Linked DNA regions of Homo sapiens: regions 1 and 3 are each linked to region 2. The links are contacts of gene promoters, found by promoter capture Hi-C in human tissues and cell types (Jung and others, 2019). All regions are on one chromosome and are shown on one strand. Each heading gives the region's core, a stretch centred on a gene start or on the middle of the fragment in contact. The rest is flanking DNA. Distances are from core to core; before and after follow the strand shown.

Region 1 (2,700 bases), core at 147-2,646, 510 kb after region 2:
CGAGCACCACCCCCTGCTCCATGGCGCCCAGTCCCATCGATCACCCAAGGACCGAGGAATGCGAGCGCACGGCGCGGGACTGGCAGGCAGCTCCACCTGCAGGCCCAGTGCGGGATCCACTAGGTGAACCCAGCTGGGCTCCTGAGTCTGGTGGGGACGTGGAGAGTCTTTATGTCTAGCTCAGGGATTGTAAATACACCAATCGGCACTCTGTATCTAGCTCAAGGTTTGTAAACACTCCAATCAGCACCCTGTGTCTAGCTCAGGGTTTGTGAATGCACCAATGGACACTCTGTATCTAGCTACTCTGGTGGGGCCTTGGAAAACCTTTATGTCTAGCTCAGGGATTGTAAATACACCAATCGGCACTCTATATCTAGCTCAAGGTTTGTAAACACACCAATCAGCACCCTGTGTTTAGCTCAAGGTTTATGAGTGCACCAATGGACACTCTGTATCTAGCTGCTCTGGTGGGGCCTTGGAGAACCTTTATGTCTAGCTCAGGGATTGTAAATACACCAATCAGCACTCTGTATCTAGCTCAAGGTTTGTAAACACACCAATCAGCACCCTGTGTTTAGCTCAAGGTTTGTGAATGCACCAATTGACACTCTGTATCTAGCTGCTCTGGTGGGGCCTTGGAGAACCTGTGTGTCGAAACTCTGTGTCTAACTAATCTGATGGGGACGTGGAGAACCTTTGTATCTAGCTCAGGGATTGTGAATGCACCAATCAGTGCCCTGTCAAAACAGGCCACTCGGCTCTACCAATCAGCAGGATGTGGGTGGGGCCAGATAAAAGAATAAAAGCAGGCTGCTGGAGCCAGCAGTGGCAAGCCACGTGGGTCCCTTTCCATAGTGTGGAAGCTTTGTTCTTTTCCTCTTTGCAGTAAATCTTGCTATTGCTACTGCTCACTCTTTTGGTCCACACTGCTTTTATGAGCTGTAAGACTCACTGGGAAGATCTACAGCTTCACTCCTGAAGCCAGCGAGACCACAAGCCCACCGGAGGAACGAACAACTCCAGACGTGCTTCTTTAAGAGCTGTAACACTCACCGCGAAGGTCTGCAGCTTCACTTCTGAGCCAGCAAGACCACGAACCCACCAGAATGAAGAAACTCTGAACACATCCGAACATCAGAAGGAACAAACTCCAGACGCGCCACCTTAAGAGCTGTAGCACTCACCGCGAGGGTCCGCGGCTTCAATCTTGAAGTCAGTGAGACCCAAGAACCCACCAATTCCGGACACACCATGTTCAGAGGCCCCTTTAGTAGCTCCACTTAGATATTTCATATGCATCTCAATCATAAAGTGTCTCAAGTGAGACCCCTGATCTACCCCACCAAATCTGTCCCTCCCTTGCCTTCCCCATCGTGGCAAATGGAAACTTTTTTTTTTTTTTTTGAGACATAGTCTTACTCTGTCACCCAGGCTGGAGTGCAGTGTTGTGATCCTGGCTCACTGCAAACTCTGCTCCCGGGCTCAAGCAATTCTTGTGCCTCAGCCTCCCTAGTAGCTGGGACTGCAGGTGCACAGCACCACACCTGACTAATTTTTGTATTAGTAGAGACAGGGTTTCACCATGTTGGCCAGGCTGGTCTCGAACTCCTGATCTCGTGATCCTTCCACTTCGGCCCAAAGTGCTGGGATTACAGGCGTGAGCCACCACATACGGCCAATTGATCCTTTTAGCATGAAAGTCAGATGGTGTCACTTCACTGTTTGGAACCCTCCAATGACTCTACATCTCAAAAATCCAAAATCCTAATACTGCTCTGCAAGGCCCTACACAATCTTTCCCTCATCCCCCCACTGCCCCCACATTATCTCTCTGACTCCTCGCCACTACTCTCTCCTGTGTTCACTCTACTTCAGTCACACTGGCCTTTCTGCTGATCCATAAACAAACCAGGCACTCCCCACCTCAGGCCTCTGCGCTTGGTGTCTCTTCTGCCTGGAATGCTTTTCCATAGCCATCTGAATGGTTGCTTCTTCACCTCCTTCAGAGATTTGCTCAAATGTCTTCTTCCCAGTGAGGCCTGAATACTCTGTTTAAAATTGTAACCCCCACCTTGGTACATTCTGTCCCCCTTCCCTGCTTTCTTGTTTTCTATAGAATTTACCACTATCCATCTGACACACTATATATTTTTCTTAAAAAAACCTCTCTCTCTCTCTCTTTTTTTTTTTTTTTTTGACAGAGTCCTGCTCTGTTGCCCAGGCTGGAGTGCAGTGGCTCGATCTTGGCTCACTGCAACCTCTGCCTCCTGGGTTCAAGCAATTCTCCTGCCTCAGCTTCCTGAGTAGCTGGGATTACAGGCATGCACCACCACATGTGGCTAATTTTTTGTATTTTTAGTAGAGATGGGGTTTCACCATGTTGGCCAGACTGGTCTCAAACTCCTAACCTCAAGTGATCCGCCCACCTCAGCCTCCCAAAGTGCTGGGATTACAGGTGTGAGCCACCACTCTGGGCCAAAATCTGTCTCTCTTTAGCCTACTAAGATGTAAGCTCTGTGAGGGCAGAGGTTTTATCTGTTTGGTATACTTCTATATTTTTGGCATTTAAAACTGTAGCCTACTAGGCACTCAATAAATATTTGTTAAATATATGAATGAATGAATGATTCTACTCATAAGTTACAGATATATATGAACCAAAATGTCAGTTTATTAATTGACAGTGAGAACTATAAC
Region 2 (2,700 bases), core at 56-2,555:
ACAGAGTGCAACTCCACCTCAAAAAAGAAAAGAAAGAAAGAGAGAAAGAAGGAAAGAAGAAAAGAAAGAAAGAAAATTGTCCATTTGGGGCCGGGCGCGGTGGCTCACACCTGTAATCCCAGCACTTTGGAAGGCCAATGTGGGAGGATTACCTGAGGTCAGGAGTTCGAAACCAGCCTGGCCAACATGGCAAAATCCCGTCTCTACTAAAAATACAAAAATTAGCCAGGCATGGTGGTGCATGCCTGTCGTCCCAGCTACTCGGGAGGCTGAGGCAGGAGAATCACTTGAAACCAGAGGCGGAGGTTGCAGTGAGCCTTGATCGCGCTGCTGCACTCCAGCCTAGGCGACAGAGCGAGACTCTGTCTCAAAAAAAAAAAAAAAGAAAAAAAGAAAAGAAAAGAAAATTGCCCATTTGGTAACTTGGACATTCAGTAACTTTGCTTTCAGCAAATTTCCTATTGATAAATCGATGAGAAGTCAAATCTGTGACCTCCAACACGAAGCACATGGGGTGTGTGCTTTATGCATGGAAGGACCTCCTTAAGACTTTCCCTGGGGAGCCTGTGCTCCAACAGGAGAGGGAAGATGGGGAGCAGTGCCCAGGAAGAAGCTCAATTTTTACCCTCACACGTCTGTGGGCCCACACCATTCTTAAGCCTCCCTCCCACTGGCATCTCCTAGTTATTTTTCTTCCCTTCCCTCCCCTCCTCTCCCCTCCCCTCCGCTCCCCTCCCCTCCCCCTCCCTCTCCCTTGTCCTCCCCTCCCCTCCCCTCCCCTCTCCTCCCCTCCCCTTCTCAGAGGCCAGATAGGCAGGGTGGGTAGGAAGAGATGGGGGGAATGGTAACGTTTGGGGTCTGGGTGATGAATAGGGAGAACCACTGCAAGTCCTTTCTGTGGACTCCCCCACCCCGGAGAATCCCCAGTACCGGAGTGAGCAGATCTTCTTTGCTTGGAACAGGAGCAGTGGTAGGTGGCTGGGGATGTCTCAGGATTCTCTCAGTAGCTTCTCTCAGATTGCCAGATGGAATGTTTGCAAGTGCTGCCAAGGAAACAACAATTTCAACCAATGGGAAGCATAGCCTACATGTTTCTGACTGCTTATGTTAATAACAGAGGGTAAGATGGGAGGGGGTGAGGGAAGGAGGGGAGAGCCAATCACAGCAACTGTCTGACCGCAATAATAGGACCAAACTGTAGTAGCTATACCTAGCTTCTCTTCAGCCGAAGATGAGCTTACAGGGCCATGCCAGGAAGAACAGTGGTGATAAGCCTCACAGCTGGTATGTATTGGGCATCCCTATGATATGCCAGTCACTGTGTTAAGCCTTCAGTGTCTGAAGTCATTTACTCCTCACAATAGCATTATGAGGTATTAGTATTTGCATATTGCAGTTGAACAGACTGAGGTACAGAAAGTACTGTCCCAAACTCACACCCAAAGCTGACTTCTTTGGCTGAGCTTTTACTTTTTCATTTCCAAATTCTGAGGTTAGGACTTCCCATGTGTACTTCATTGCTTTGCAAACCAAAAAGTATCTGAAACAGGTCTCAATTTACCAGTTTATTTTGCCAAGGTTAAGGATGTGTCTGGGAGACAGGTCTGTGCCTTTCTCCAAAGATGACTTTGAGGGCTTCAGTATTTATTTATTTATTTAAAGACAGGGTCTCACTGTCACCCAGGCTGAAATGCAGTGGCACAGTCATGGCTCACCCCAGCCTCCACTGCCTGGGCTCAAGTGATTCTCCCACCTCAGCCTCCCAGGTAGCTGGGACTATAGGTGTGCCACCACCACACCTGGCCAATTTTTAAATTATTTGTAGAGACAAGGTCTCGCTCTGTTGCCCAGGCTGGTCTCGAACTCCTGAGCTCAAGCTATCCTCCTGCCCCAGCCTCCCAAAGTGCTGGGATTACAGCCATGAGCCACCCCACCTGGCCAGGCTTCAGGTTTTAGTTTGTTTGTTTGAGATGGAGTTTCACTCTTGTTGCCCAGGCTGGAGTGCAATGGCACGATCTTGGCTCACTGCCACCTCTGCCTCCCGGGTTCAAGCGATTCTGCTGCCTCAGCCTCCCAAGTAGCTGGGATTACAGGCTCCTGCCACCACACCCAGCTAGTGTTTGTATTTTTAATAGAGACGGGATTTCACCATGTTGGTCAGGCTGGTCTCGAACTCTTGACCTTAGGCGATCCATGCACCTCGGCCTCTGATGGTGCTGGGATTACAGGCCTGAGCCATCACGCCCGGCCTAGGCTTCAGTATTTAAAGGAGAAATGCAAGGGCAGGTGCAGTGGCTCACGCTTGTAATCCCAGCACTTTGGGAGACCAAGGCAGGCAGATCACCTGAGATCAGGAGTTGGAGACCAGCCTGGCCAATATGGTGAAACCCTGTCTCTACCAAAAATACAAAAATTAGCTGGGCATGGTGGGGGGCACCTGTAATCCCAGCTACTTGGGAGGCTGAGGCAGGAGAATCGCTTGAACCCGGGAAGTAGAGGTTGCAGTGAGCCAAGATTGCACCACTGCACTCCAACCTGGGCAACAAGAGCTAGACTCCGTCTCAAATAATAACAATAATAATAATAATAAATAATAATAATAAAGGGGAAATGCGAGCTTGAGGGAAGAGAGGGAAGGTATGGTCACATGATTGAATCCACATGTTGCAAGAGAAAAAGAGCAGGTAGAGGAAGAATCAA
Region 3 (2,700 bases), core at 184-2,683, 290 kb after region 2:
GTCTCACTCTGTTGCCCAGGCTGGAGTGTAGTGGCGCGATATTGGCTCACTGCAACCTCTGCCTCCCGGGTTCAAGCGATTCTCCTGCCTCAGCCTCCGGAGTAGCTGGGATTACAGGCGCCTGCCACCACGCCCGGCTAATTTTTGTATTTTTAGTGGAGACAGGGGTTTCACCATGTTGGCCAGGCTGGTCTCGAACTCCTGACCTCAAGTAATCCTCCTGCCTCGGCCTCCCAAAGTGCTGGGATTACAGGCGTGAGCCACCGCACCCAGCCTGTTTTATTTTCTTCACAGCATGTATCACCTTGTGAACTTTTTAAAAACATTTCGATTGTTACCCCAATAAACATGAATGCCCACCACGGAGAAAGACAGACGTGGAAATAAATTATGAAAGTGTGTAAAGTGCTGTTATCTTCTGCTCCTCTCAGTCTAATACACCCCTAACATAAAGTGTCATATAATTAGAAATACGTCATTAAAGAGTTAAAGATGGTAGTGTGTTAAAGCCACCTCATCCAATGGTCCGGCTCCTGGTGGAACATTTAGTTTTATGCAGGGCTATTTCTCCCCACCAAGATTGTAGTCAATTCCAGGACAACAGAGAAAACCCACTTTCTTTCCTTCTTTTTTGTACTCTTGCTGTATTGAGCACACAGTAGGTGCTGTGTAAATTCCCGCCGACAGACACTCATTGATTAACTGCTTTCGTGACACAGGTTGGCAGATAGGGACTGAAGTTATTGAGTGAAGCTGACTCCGGGTGGAGTGATACATTTGGCTACAGTGATTGAGCGGCTCTACCTTGCAGTACCCTCTTCTGTGGGCCCCTTTTGTATCTTGTAATCTTTTGCACTTAAGTTGATACGTGAAATACAGACTTGCAATCGTGATCAGAACTGTGTAAACAGTATCTGTGTTCGTAATTGGGATACAGTATGGACTTGAAACTGGCTAACTTGAGAAGCGGCGCTGTGGATGATTTTCTTGGCAAGTGTTTCATTTTTACTACGTTTCCGCAGTAAGCTATTACACAAAGCTAATGATGCACGATGCACAGAGCATTTCAAGCTACTCTCTGAAGAAAAGGCACCTCGGGGAGCTGACTGTTTTGTTTTGTTTTAATGTAAAGTCCAGTGCAGACCTAAATCCCTTACAAGGAACATGGTCTCACTGTCGCGCCGCTTAAAAATCCAGGGAAAAGCGTCAGACGAGCCGTGGGCTACCAACATTCATCTGAGGGCACCTTCTAACCATATTCTCGAACCTCAGAGAACCTTCCTAAATTCCCTTTCTGGAGTCCCCGCCCTCCGCTTGTCACCGTAGTGCGTCAAAGGCCCGTAGTCGTCACTGGAGGGAAAAAAGTACGTCGCGCGAGATTCTGCGACGGGATTTGGAAGTTAGGGAACAGCCGCGGCGCAAGCGCACTGGCCTCACAACCCCGGACGGCACGCGGGTAGGTAGGCTAGAACCTAGAGGAGGGGAGCAGAGCGTGCTGGGGTCTTTTATCGCTCTCCGCGCAGTGCGTGGGTCTGCGGATCCGTGGAGGTGCGGAGCCTGACTCGGCCTCCCCGGCTCGCGCGTGAGTGCGGCGGAAGCCCTTCTGCTCCTCCACGAGTTAGAGGAGTGTAGGGGACGTGCATCCCAGTGTCGGGACGCGAGCTCGTGCTCCTCTTTTCCTCCTAACGGTGGCCCCCACGCACACACTCCAGTCCCCCCGAGAGTTGATCTTCTCCCCTCAGCGCGCCCCTCCTTACCCGGCCCCTCCCACCGGCCCCCCGTTTCCGCCCGCTTGCTAGCTGCCTAGCTCGCGGTCCGTAGTCGGCTTCGTCCCTGGGGTCCCTGCTTGGGGGCGGAGAAGATGGCTGGAGGACGTCTGCTGTTGGGGGGCGACTTCCTGTCGCGCCGCCGCTGCCCCCCCTCCCGCCGCCGCCGCTGCCGCCCCTCCCGCCGCCCCCGCCCGAGCCAGTGCTGGAGCAGTGGCGCTATAGCCACGAAAGTGACTGGCAGTGGGCTCTGCGGCGCAGCTTCATCTGTCGGCACCTGCACAGCTATCCCGGGGCTGCCCTCGACCAGCTCCTCGCGCTCTCCGCCGCCTGGACCAACCACGTCTTCCTGGGCTGCAGGTGAGGAAGGTGTGGGTGTCGGGTTAGGGACGGGGGTGAGAGATCGGTGATGGGGGATCGGGTTAGGGACGGCGCTGGAGGGATCGATGATGGTGGTTGGGATAGGGACGGGGGCGGGATGCGGAGGATAGGTTGGAGGCTGGAGATTTGGAGGTGCTGGAGGGCACTAGAGGGATCACTATTGGCCTGGGGGTGGGGTGGCCGACTGTGGTGGCTGGGCATGACATAACAGCTAGGAGGGTGCAGAGATCGCGGAAGCGGCCTCTCCAGGACCAGGGATGGAGATGAAGCAGCGCCTAGAAGAGGATTATTGAGAGGTGGTCATTGTAGTTGGTGGCGGTATTAGAGGACGTGGGGAATGATGAATAGCAGCATCTCGGACCTGCGTAGGGCCTTCCAAGGATGCAGTATCCGCAGAGAATATATTCGACAGTTGGAGTTGTGGGGGAAGGGCGAGGGGACCCCACTGTTCTAGTCTCCTCCTGACCACTCTCTTTTTCCATTCCTCTTAAATACCCCCCTCTACTTGCAGCCCCCTAGCAGGGTCTTACTGTCTTCTCCTGGGGAGGCGGTA

Evidence for each region. The method cuts DNA at HindIII sites, captures the fragments that hold promoters and counts their contacts. A contact is called where the count stands out against the background at its distance.
Region 1: a contact is called between a fragment that was not itself captured here and the fragment with the promoter of AKAP14 in region 2, in 1 of the 25 tissues and cell types used here (pancreas).
Region 3: a contact is called between the fragment with the promoter of NKRF here and the fragment with the promoter of AKAP14 in region 2, in 1 of the 25 tissues and cell types used here (adrenal gland).

What each region holds. Positions count from the first base shown.
Region 1 is chrX:119,384,946-119,387,645 of GRCh38, reverse strand. No RefSeq gene overlaps it. Among named protein-coding and RNA genes, the nearest start is that of SLC25A43, 13 kb to the left of the region's middle. The HindIII fragment of the contact is 4,136 bases long and covers 1-2,700 here.
Region 2 is chrX:119,894,498-119,897,197 of GRCh38, reverse strand. AKAP14 (A-kinase anchoring protein 14) reads right to left here and starts at 1,305. Exons shown (of 7, transcript NM_178813.6): 1 at 1,211-1,305; 2 at 931-1,043. The HindIII fragment of the contact is 18,586 bases long and covers 1-2,700 here.
Region 3 is chrX:119,605,157-119,607,856 of GRCh38, reverse strand. NKRF (NFKB repressing factor) reads left to right here and starts at 1,433. Exons shown (of 4, transcript NR_163972.1): 1 at 1,433-2,126. RefSeq lists an enhancer at 1,200-1,309 and a silencer at 1,850-1,899. The HindIII fragment of the contact is 14,426 bases long and covers 1-2,700 here.